2 separate regions of the Homo sapiens genome follow, and region 1 is linked to region 2. The links are contacts of gene promoters, found by promoter capture Hi-C in blood cells and fetal thymus (Javierre and others, 2016). All regions are on one chromosome and are shown on one strand. The core of a region is centred on a gene start or on the middle of the fragment in contact, and the rest is flanking DNA. Distances in the headings are between cores, read along the strand shown. Region 1 overlaps SLC17A5 (solute carrier family 17 member 5). Region 2 holds the start of KHDC1 (KH domain containing 1).

What was found. Contacts are between HindIII fragments. The CHiCAGO score rates a contact against its expected background, and 5 or more counts as called.
Region 1: a contact is called between a fragment that was not itself captured here and the fragment with the promoter of KHDC1 in region 2, in 1 of 17 cell types (non-activated CD4 T cells). The highest score is 5.3, in non-activated CD4 T cells.

Annotation. Positions count from the first base shown.
Region 1 is chr6:73,646,299-73,652,261 of GRCh38, reverse strand. All of the region lies in intron 1 of SLC17A5 (solute carrier family 17 member 5), which reads left to right. Among named protein-coding and RNA genes, the nearest start is that of SLC17A5, 4.7 kb to the left of the region's middle. The HindIII fragment of the contact is 3,388 bases long and covers 1,671-5,058 here.
Region 2 is chr6:73,261,239-73,266,854 of GRCh38, reverse strand. KHDC1 (KH domain containing 1) reads left to right here and starts at 3,659. Exons shown (of 4, transcript NM_030568.5): 1 at 3,659-4,081. The region is part of intron 2 of LOC122539213 (KHDC1-KHDC1L); the gene reads left to right. It also overlaps the pseudogene KHDC1-AS1. RefSeq lists a silencer at 3,546-3,815. The HindIII fragment of the contact is 4,328 bases long and covers 2,470-5,616 here.

The DNA.
Region 1 (5,963 bases), core at 2,115-4,614, 390 kb before region 2:
AATCCCTACTTGATTCATGTGTTGAGTGTATGGATCTTATGGTACTGGCCCTGTCCTTCCTGGCTTTAGGTGGCTACGTTTGTTACAACCATTTCCTTTTTTATTTTCCCTCTTTACATACCCACTGGAGAGCAAGTGAAGTGGAAATAATAGTAACATACTGTTTTTGCTATTTAGAATATGATAAGTTTTATAGAGAAGGAGCATATATGGCAATTAAGAGAAGTATATAATGAGCCCCCATGTAACCAGCACCCAGATTAAAGTTATCAATTCATGGCCAGTCTTGCCTTATGCTCATACATACTGTGTATTTTGAAGCAAATCCCAGATACCATGTCATTTCATATGTAAATATTTCAATTATTTACCTCTAAAAGATAAGGACTCTTTTTAACATAACTACAGTACTATTATCACAGCAAATAAAAATAATGCTTACTCACTTTGGGAGGCCGAGGCGGGCGGATCACCTGAGGTCAGCAGACCGAGACCATCCCGGCTAACAAGGTGAAACGCCTGAAACGCCGTCCCTACTAAAAATACAAAAAATTAGCCGGGTGTGGTGGCGGGTGCCTGTAGTCCCAGCTATTCGGGAGGCTGAGGCAGGAGAATGGCGTGAACCTGGGAGGCGGAGCTTGCAGTGAGCCGAGATCACGCCCCTGCACTCCAGCCTGGGTGACAAGAGCAAGACTTCGTCTCAAAAAATAATAATAATAAAATAATAATAATACTTACAAAATACTCAGTGTTCATATTTCCTCAATTATGTCCTGATTTTTTTTTTTTTTTTTTTTTTTTGAGACGGAGTTTTGCTCTGTCGCCCAGGCTGGAGTGCAGTGGTGCGATCTCGGCTCACTGCAGCCTCAGCCTCCCCGGTTCAAGTGATTCTCCTGCCTCAGCCTCCCGAGTAGCTGGGATTACAGGCCTACGCCACCACACCCAGCTAATTTTTGTATTTTTAGTAGAGACGGAGTTTCACCATGTTGGCAAGGCTGGTCTCTAACTTCTGACCTCAGGTGATCCACCCGCCTTGGCCTCCCAAAGTGCTGGGATTACAGGCCTGAGCCACCGGGCCGGGCCTATGTCCTAATTTTTTATAGTGTGTTCAAATCAGGATCTCAATAATGTCCATACCTTCCAAATGATTGAAATGTTTTTTGTCTCTTTTAATCTGTTTCCCCTGCCCCGCTCCTTTTCTTTTCCCTGCAATTTTATATCCTTATGTTGTCCTTTAACATCTTCTGCCCTCCTGATTTACTGTAAATTGGTAATTAGTAGATCTGAAGATTTGATAGGATTATGAGTCTGTCTGTCTTAATTACCGTCATGACTATTCCATAAGTAGAATACAAGTGTAGAAAGTAGAATTGTGTCAGCATGCTAATTCTCCCATACACGGCTCTAGACACTGGAGATACAAAGAAGTAAACAAAACAGAACAAAAGCTCCTGCCCTTATAGACTTTTATATTCTAGTGTATATTTTCCTAAACTTTCAGCCCTCTCCATTTTGCTTTCTTCTTGGGTTACAATCAAAGTCCAACACTTTATTTTCTTTTTTTTTTTTTTCAGGATCTCACTCTGTTGCCCAGGCTAGAATGCAGTGGCTCAAACAGGTCTTACTGCAGCCTCAACCTCCCAGGCTCAAGTGACCCTCCTACCTAAGCTTCCTGAAGAACTGGGACTGCAGGCATGTGCCACCACACCTGGCTAATTTTTTTCTTTTTCTTTTTTTTTTTTTTTTTTTTTTTTGAGACGGAGTCTTGCTCTTTCGCCCAGGCTGGACTGCAGTCGCGCTATCTCGGCTCACTGCATGCTCCGCCTCCCGGGTTCATGCCATTCTCCTGCCTCAGCCTCCGAGTAGCTGGGACTACAGGCACCCGCCACCACGCCCGGCTAATTTTTTCTATTTTTAGTTCAGAAGGGGTTTCACCGTGTTAGCCAGGATGGTCTCGATCTCCTGACCACGTGATCCACCTGCCTCGGCCTCCCAGAGTGCTGGGATTACAGGCGTGAGCCACCGTGCCCGGCCTTTTTTTCTTTCTTTTTTTTTTTTTTTTTTGTAGAAAAAAGGTCTCACTTAGTTGCTCAGGCTGGTCTCAAACTCCTGGGCTCAAGTGATCCTCCTGCGTCAGCCTCCCAAAGTGCTAGGATTACAGGCGTGAGCCACAGCACCCAGCCCAACACTTTATTTTCTTGCCAATACTCTCGATTCCCTTGCCCCCTTCTTTGTCATCACATCCATCTCGGTGCCAGCTATCTGCTTTCTTAGTGCCTACTCCTGAGCACAGGCATGCAGTGCTTATGAAGTTACACACTAGGGCAGATTGTTCCCACCAATTCTGTATGGGTATCTGCTCAGCATTCCTGTGTTTCACTGAGAACCTCATGCCCCCACTCTCTTCAACAATTTCTTACTTTTCCCAGATCCCAATTTCTCACAAATGAGAACTAACCTCAATTCCTAAGAAATAACCTCAATTCCTAATTTCCAGAAAAAAAAACCCATAATAATTCACAGTTATTCTGTGCCAAGCACTCTTCTAAGTATTTTACATTACTAACTCAGTGAATCCTTATAATAACCCTAATTCAGGCAAAATACTTCGACTAGTGCCAAGCGTATAGAAAATGCTTAGTAATATTTGTTTTTTGAGACAAGAGTCTTATTCTGTTGCCCAGGCTGAAGTGCAGTGGCACAATCACAGCTCACTGCAGCCTAAACTTCCCAGACTCAAGCCATCCTCCCACCTCAGCCTCCCAGGTAGCTGGGATTACAGGTGCACAACACCACAACCAGCTAATTTTGAAATTTTTTGTAGAGATGGGGTTTCATCATGTTGCCCAGGCTGGTCTTGAACTCCTGGGCTCAAGCAATCCTTCCCCATCTCAGCTTCCCAAAGTGCTGGGATTACGAGTGTGAGCCACCATGCCCGGCTTGTAATAAATATTATCTATTATTGTCTAGGCATGGTGGCTTATGCCTGTAATCCCAATGCTTTGGGATGCCAAGGTGGGCGGATTGCCTGAGGTCAGGAGTTTGAGACCAGCCTGGCTAACATGGTGAAATCCTGTCTCTACCAAAAATACAAAAATTAGCTGGGTGTGGTGATGCATGCCTGTAGTCCCAGCTACTCGGGAGGCTGAGGCAGGAGAATTGCTTGAACCTGGAAGATGGAGGTTGCAGTGAGCTGAGATTGTGCCACTGCACTCCAGCCTGGGAGACAGAGAAAGACTCCATCTCCAAAAAAAAAAAAAATTATATATTATTTTATGTTATTAAACTTAATACCCACTATCCCACTCAATAGTGTTAGTTCTTAGAGTTACTACAATACATAATCTAGATACTGCAGATCATTTAGAATGTCCTGCTCTCCCTATGTTTATCTGTCTCATTTCCATACCTCTGTACATGCTGCTGCTTTTGCTTGGATTGTTCCATCTGTCCCTACTGGTGACTTCCTGCTCCTTGAAGAGACTTCTCCAAGAGGCCTTCTCTGACTGTCTCCACTGTCCCCTCCATCAGATTAATGTGCCTCTTTTGTTCCTTTTTATATATACGTACATAGTACTTTGTCTTATTGGCATAACTTTCTCCAGATAAAAAGGAGGAAGAAATCCTTTTTACTAAGTGCCTGCTATAATGTCTTGCAGTATTTCATTTAATCCCCATGCAGCCCAGTGGGTAGATGGTGGTCTCTACATATTATAGCTAAGAAACCTGAGAATGAAAACTAGTAAGTAATTTCTACAAAAGCACACAGCCAGTGAAAAATCAGAAACAGATTCATTCCCAGGTCCCACTCTAAATTAGCCTGTGTACTTTCAGTTACACCCACACACATTCCTAAGTTTAAAACACATTTTAGAAGCTGATGTTTGTTTTTGATGGGTGCCATGTTCCTTATGCAAGCATGATTTTGCTTTGAACTTGATGCTCAATGGATGTTCTCTCTCTTGGTCATGCAAGCATGCTTTTGTTGGATCAATTTCAAAGAATATTCACATTCCCAGGCATGTTTTTCTTTACTGCTATACCTTCTTGAAATAAAAATTTTCTGATTGAATATATTTGTAATCAGCAACCATTTTATTAGCTAGTAATTGTTTATTTTTAATATTTCTTAGAATCTCATAGTAATATACTTTGTGACACCTGAGTTGGCTTTTTATTTTCTTTTTTTTTTGAGACGAAGTCTCGCTCTTGTCCCCCAGGCTGGAGTGCGATGGCGTGATCTCGGCTCACTGCAACCTCCACCTCCCAGGTTCAAGCGAGTCTCCTGCCTCAACCTCCCGAGTAGCTGGGATTACAAGTGCCTGCCACCACGCCCGGCTAATTTTTGTATTTTTAGTAGAGACGGGGTTTCACCTTGTTGGCCAGGCTGGTCTACAAACTCCTGACCTCAGGTGATCCACCCGCTTCGTCCTCCCAAAGTGCTGGGATTACAGGCGTGAGCCACCGTGCCTGGCCGCTTTTTATTTTCTAATTACTGACTATGCATCCAAAAGTTAAAGTTGCCTGATCTATAACTTGTAGGTCAGATTTCCAAGTAATACCACGAGTAATTTGAAATCATTTTACTTACCTTTCTTTCATTTCTCAACATTCTAGCCCCTTGTAATTCACATGATAAGGTATATCATAGTCCCAATAAAGCATCACTTAGGGAAAACTAATAATGTACAGTAAAATAAGATAACTGCAAATAAGGATAGAATGAAGTAATAACATTACAAATTACAGTAGCATAAAATAGAGTTTTTTAGAGTAAGAGAATTACTAATAACTTCATCCCTCCCCTTCACTTACTCCCACATCTAACATTTGGGCAAGGCCTGTTAATTCTGCCTTTAAACATCTCAGATCTGCCCATTTTTCTTCACTGCTGCTTTCACTGTAGTTTAAGCCACCTTCATCTCTTAGCTGGAAAGCTACAGTAGTCCTTTAAGTGATCTCCCTGACTGTACATTCCTTACACCCTTCACACTTCTCCTTTCTATAGTCTCCATGCAGGGTCCAGATGAGCTCTTTAAACCATCAACCAGATAAGCTTTTTAAACCATAAATCACATCTCATCACTCCTTTGCTGAAATAGGTAATGATCTTTTTAAATGCTGCATTGACAAAACAGACATAGTACATAAATCTGGGTTTTTCTTGCTCCAAATTGCTCAAAGTAACACATTTTAATGCACACATTTAGCTAGATTTTTGAGTCCCCCATCCAGACTTCTAGGTAATATCACCTGACACAGAGCAATGATAAAGAAAACATGTTCTGCTGGGCACAGTGGCTCACGTCTATAATTCCAGTGCTTTGGGAGGCTGAGATGGGAGGATTGCTTGAGGCCAAAAGTTCAAGACCAGCCTGGGCAAAATAGTGAGACCCCGACTCTACAAGTAAAAATTTAAAAATTAGTCAGATATGCTGCCATATGCCTTTAGTCCCAGCTACTCAAGAGGCTGAGGTGAGAGGATCACTTGAGTCCAGGGGTTCGAGGTTACAGAAAGTTATGATCACCCACTGTACTCCAGCTTGGGCAACAGAGCAAGACCCTGTCTCTAAAAAAAAAAAGAAAGAAAAAAGAAAATGTGTTTTTTTACAAAACATGCCTCACAATATCCAAACCGTCATTAACTGGACAACTGCCCATTTGGTTGCAGCAGAAAGCAAATTCGCCTAGATTCTAGTAATAGAGACAATGTGAATAGAACTTTAGAAATTCAGTTCTTACAGATCTGGATCTAACTATGGTAGTGGTACCATAAATTTCATAGCTGTACCCCTGAAGAAAGGATTTAAGAATGCCAAATGAAAAGTTTCCTGTTAAAAGAAGTTAATCTTACACAGGGAAAAAAAAATAATAGCAGTTGTTAAACATAGGAGGGCATACAGAAAAGTGAGTTGGATCATAATATATTAATATAAACCTAAGTATAGTTGTGCATATTCATT
Region 2 (5,616 bases), core at 2,410-4,909:
CATGATTTGCAAATATTTTTTTCTCATTCTGTGGGTTGTCTTTTCATTCTTCTTCATGTTCCTTGATGCACAAAAGTTTATAATTTTGATGAAATCCAATTCATCTTTTTTGTTGTTGTTGCATATGCTTTTGGAGTCATATCTGAGAAATCATTGCCAAATCTAACATCATGAAGCTTTTGCCCTGTGTTTTCTTCTAACAGTTTTACATTTAGGTCTTTGATCCACTTTAAGTTCTGTATCTGGTATAAGGTAAGGAGGCCAACAACATTCTTTTGTATGTGGGTATCCAGCTTTCCAAGTACCATTTTTTGAAAAGACTGTCCCTCCTCCATCGAATGGTCTTGGCACCCTTGTTGAAACACAGGAGGACTTTAAAGTCAACTCAGATTTCTCAGCTTATTGTCTGGGCTCTTGATAACTGCTTCCTCAGTAAATGACAACATATATCCATGCAGTAGTGCCTATTATATGATAAGGCAAAGACTATTGAGCTAATGAAAGTAAAAAGCTTAGAAGAACACCTGTGGTATGTAGTAAAAAGCTCAACAAATGTTGGTTATTTCATTATTAAGAGTGACATTAGAGTCCAACATCTCCCTTGTTTTCATTAAAGGTTTTAACATATTGCAGAGTTTGTTATATAAGTCAGGCCAAAAGGTACTATACTCTGATCACAACTAATCTTTGGATTTTCCCCCAAGACAGATCCTCATCCACTCCTTTGCTTCTAAGTTTATTTTGCTTCTTATAACAAGTGTTGCACTCAACACCCAAAGATAAACCTTGATCTTAACATATGGCATGCTTTTTGTCAATGCTTTTTGTATGGATACTAAGACCCTTAGGTTGGGTGAGTGTTAGAATGCCATTGCACTGCACTTTAGCCTGGGTAACAAAGCCAGACCTCGTCTCCCCCCAAAAAAAAGAAAAAGAAAAGGGATCTCGCCATGTTGCCCAGGCTGGTCTCAAACTCCTGGTCTCAAGCAATCCTCCCACCTTTGCCTCCCAAAATGTTAGGATTACAGGTATGAGCCACTGCACCCAACCAAAACTTCCACTTCCACTTCACCAAGAAAGTTTCTTTCATTTCAGACTGATTTTCCAAGTGTACTCTAAGAGGGTAACCCTGCCTTTTAGTTGTGTTGATGCCACAACTGTCAGTCTACTTATAAAGTCCAGGATTTAAATGCTAAAGACAAGAGAACCTGAAAAAGGCTTACTCAAACTCCTCTCAGCAAGAGCCCTTAGTCTCCATTCCCACCTTCCTCCAATCCAGCTCACAGTGACCAGTCACGTTACTTTTTTTTTTTTTTTTTTTTTTTTGAGACGGAGTCTCGCTCAGTTGCCCAGGCCAGAGTGCAATGGCACAGTCTTGGCTCACTGCAACTTCCACCTCCCAGGTTCTAGCAATTCTCCTGCCTCAGCCTCCCGAGTAGCTGGGATTACAGGCACCCACCATCATGCCCGACTAATTTCTGTATTTTTGTAGAGATGGGGTTTCACCATGTTGGCCAGGCTGATCTTAAACTCCCGACCTCAGGCAGTGACCTCTTTTCTGTACACCGAATTCCTTCTTCAGTACAGACAGAGTTACTACTTCATTCTTCTCTCAACATTATAATTGTTTTGCGGTTTCTGGGGAGAATTTATCTTACTTATTTCCTTATCTCAAAGGCCTATGCAGAACAGCTAAATAGGTAACTGATGAGAAATATACTACTAGACAAACTCTAACACTCACTCAACCTAAAGGTCTTAGAAATTTGTTCTGTGACATTTTATTGAAACTACACCCTGCATCCAACCAAAAGTAAGGGCTGAATGACTCCTTTTATCCTAGAGTGCACTAGTCTCTGGGGTATACATGCACTCCTCAATCAGTTCTCAGATGATTCTGCCTCTAAGAGCAGCAGAAACTACAGGTAATCATCTCCGGGCTTACTTGAAGTTGTGTGCTCATTCCAAAATCTGCCTTGCTCACTCAAGAGTCCAGGTATCACTGGCCTTCGAGGTCATTAGGCAGCATCCAGTCTTTGAAGCAAACCATTCCAGGTTTTTGACTCTGCTTTCCTGTCAATGTCAGCTAGAGGAACTCTTCTCCCTGCCTTGGCCCTGGCTGGTCCTGGTTCCACTCTGGCTCATTTGCTTCCACACCTGGCCTATGATACCACATGACTAATTCCTTCCTGTGTGCCTCTGGCCCAGGCTTGCCAAAGGAATGCACTCAGAGCAGCTCTACCTATTCCTGTCCATCAGTTGCTGGTTGCGCACTGGCACTGCACATACCTGCTCCACAGAATCTTAAACCTTCAGGACTCTACCTGCTCACAGGTCCTGGGTTCCTACAGGCGTTCTTCATCAAGGGTGGGGCCACAGCTTTGCCCCAAGAGGGCAACCTGCCTCCTTGTTCCTGTACTGGCTTGAGACTCCTAGGCTGTGTCTGAACTAGCTGATAGGCCAGAAGCTTTAGGATGAAAAGAATACTGGAGGAGTCCTCAAAGTTAGAACTTTTATTGGTGTCTGTGTCCCCTCACTCATCTTAGCTATCTTGACCCTTCCCTACTTACCTTAATGATTTCGTGATTTCAATGAAAAAGACGCAACCTAGATAAGATTGCAAGGTCCCATACCTTCCTGGGGGCAGAGTTGACCTCAGACAGGGTCTTGCTTTGTTGCCCAGGCTGGAATGCAGTGGCGTGATCTCAGCTCACAGCAGCCTCAAACTCTCGGGCTCAAGCAATCCTCCCACCTCAGCTTCCCATATAGCTTGGGCTACAGGCGTGCACCACCATGCCCAGCTGATTTTTAAATTTTTTGTAGAGACAAGTTCTCCCTCTGTTGCCCCAGCTGGTTTCGAACTCCTGGGCTCAAGCGATCCTTGCTCTTTGGCCTCCCAAAGTGTTGGGATTACAGGTGTGAGCCACTGTGCCCAGCCCGACCTTTTGTTAATACTCCCATCTAATTGTCCAAACGGACTTGAACAAAAGAATCTTCTTCCCAATACTGCCAGGGAGGGCAAAATTCTTCAAATTCATGTTTGAGGCCATAAACGAACAGGAGTAAAATGGAATCCGCAGGAAGCAATGACAAGAAACCCAAAAACATTCATTTCCCTCCAGCCCAAGTGGCAGATGGGATCTCAAATACACCACGGTGTGATGCGTGACAGGAGGCATCCACTGGGGATGTGGAGCATTTTAAGTGCCCTGCAGAGGGTGGGCCTGGGTCACCCCCCCCCCCACCGCGACACCCCTCCCCAGGCAACATTCCTGGGGAGTCTGGACCTCCCTTGGTGGACCGACACCCGAGGGTCTCTAGGGTTTTTCACCCCATATCGGGGTGAACTGAAGGCATGGGAAGAGGCAGCCCCACAGCCTGGGTCCCCAAAACCCCCTCCGGGCTGAGAGCAAGAGATGCCGCCTGGAGGCCACTCACCAAGCAGCTCCGCTGGCTCAGCAATGGGGGTCGTCCGGGTCTGGGTCATTGCCACTGGCTCGTCCCTCCTCCCACCCTTGCTTCCTGGACTCAAGAGCTGCTGGGCTCTCTGCGCGCCGGCAGTGGGCTCCGCAGGCTGTCTCCTACACAGAGCAGGCGGGAGGAGGGCTCTGGGTTGCTTCCCGCGCCGCAGCCGCGCGCTTCCGGCGGGGTCGCCGCCACTTCCGCTCGAGCGCGCCTCGCGCGGCCGCGGCGCGAGCCGGGACCCCTGGAAGGGTCGGGTGCGCGGCCCAGGAGGTACCGCTGTCTCCTCACAATCGGCCAGGCCTGCAGCCGCTGCCGCCGCTGCCGCCGCCGCCGCCGCCGCCGCCGCCGCCCTACTCAGGGAGTGGCCCAGGCCTGCGGCGCGCCACCCTCACCTCCTTCATTCCTACCGTCAAAGCCCAGCCTTGGCTACCTGACCCCCCTGTGGTCTCGAACTCGGTTAGTCCGGTGAAGGGACAGAGAAGCCTGGGTTCCCGGCGGCATCACTGAGATGCTCAGTCCTGAATTCTGCCCTCCATTAGGATTATCTGCTTTGTGGGATAATTTCCTCATTGGTTGAGTCAGTGAGTTGCGTGTCTGCAAGAGAGCATCCTATCTGGTGGGTCTTCATCTAGATCTTGCACATTTCTTACTAAGTTCATCCTAAGAATATCTTACAGATAAGGAAAGTGAGCTGCAAAGAAGTGTAAAAACAGGGGAAACAGGAGATAGCAGTATAAAGAGAAAAATTAAAACAGATCGTGTGACTTTCCTCTATTGTTAATTGATTTGGGGACATTTTAAACTTATAGAAAGAAAAGAAACACGGGTTTTGTTGACACATCTCAAAACAAAATGGGTGTAACACCTTTAAAATGTAAACTATTGTGCTGGATATGTTTGTATTATTTTGAAGTCATTTAAAGTAATCGCATGAGGTGTTGCCTGCTGTTGGACCAGTAGTTTCTTTTTAGTATTCAAGCAAAGGCATAGTGAGGAAATAGTAAGAAAAAAAGAAGGAATGCTGTAACAGGAAACAAGGGAAAGGAGGAGCAGAGGAAAAGGGCAGGAAAGGTTTAACATTTACGTAGCACTTGCTATGCACCAGACACTTTTAAGCTCTTTAAATGTATTAACTCCTCTAGTTCTCACCACAGCCCTATGAAATGGGTATACTATTATCACCTCTGGTTTACAAAGAAGGCAAGTGAGGTCAAGAGAGGTTAAGCAACTGGCCCAAGGTTACACCGTAAGTGGCAAAACCTTTGCTTGAGCACATCAATTTGGCCCTAGAGTCTATGCTTTTTTTTTTTTGAGAAGGGCCTCTTTCCTGCTGCCTAGGCTGGAGGGCTGTGGCACCATCATGGCTCACTGCAGCTCCAACCTGCCGGGCTCAATGAATTCTCTCACCTCAGCCTCCTGAGTAGCTGAGACCGCAGGCACATACCACCTTGCCCAGCTAGGCTTTTTTTTTTTTTTTTGAGATGGAGTCTTGCTCTGTCACCCAGGCTGGAGTGCAGTGGTGCGATCTTGGCTCACTGCAACCTCTATCTCCCGGGTTCAAGTGATTCTCCTGCCTCAGCCTCCCGAGTAGCTGGGATTACAGGTGCCTGCCACCATGCCCAGCTAATTTTTGTATTTTTAGCAGAGACGGGGTTTCACCACCTTGGCCAGGCTGGTTTCAAACTCCTGACCTCATGATCCACCCGCCTTGGCCTCCCAAAGTGCTGGGATTACAGGCGTGAGCCACCACTCCCAGCCTATTTTTTTTTTTGGTATTTTTTTTATAGTGACAGGGTTTCACCATATTGCCCAGGCGGGTCTCAAATTCCTGGGCTCAAGGGGTCCGCCCGCCTCGACCTCCCAAAGTGTTGGGATTACAGGTGTGAGCCACTGTGCCTGGTCCTAGAGTCTATGCTTATTTTTTTAAAAAAAATTTTATTTATTTATTTATTTTTTGAGACAGAGTCTAGCTCTGTCACCAGGCAGTGGCGTGATCTTAGCTCACTGCAATCCCCGCCTTCTGGGTTCAAGCCATTCTCGTGCCTCAGCCTCTCAAGTAGCTGGGATTACAGGCATGCGCCACCATGCCCAGCTAATTTTTGTATTTTTAGTAAAGACGGGGTTTCACCATGTTGGCCAGGCTGGTCTCAA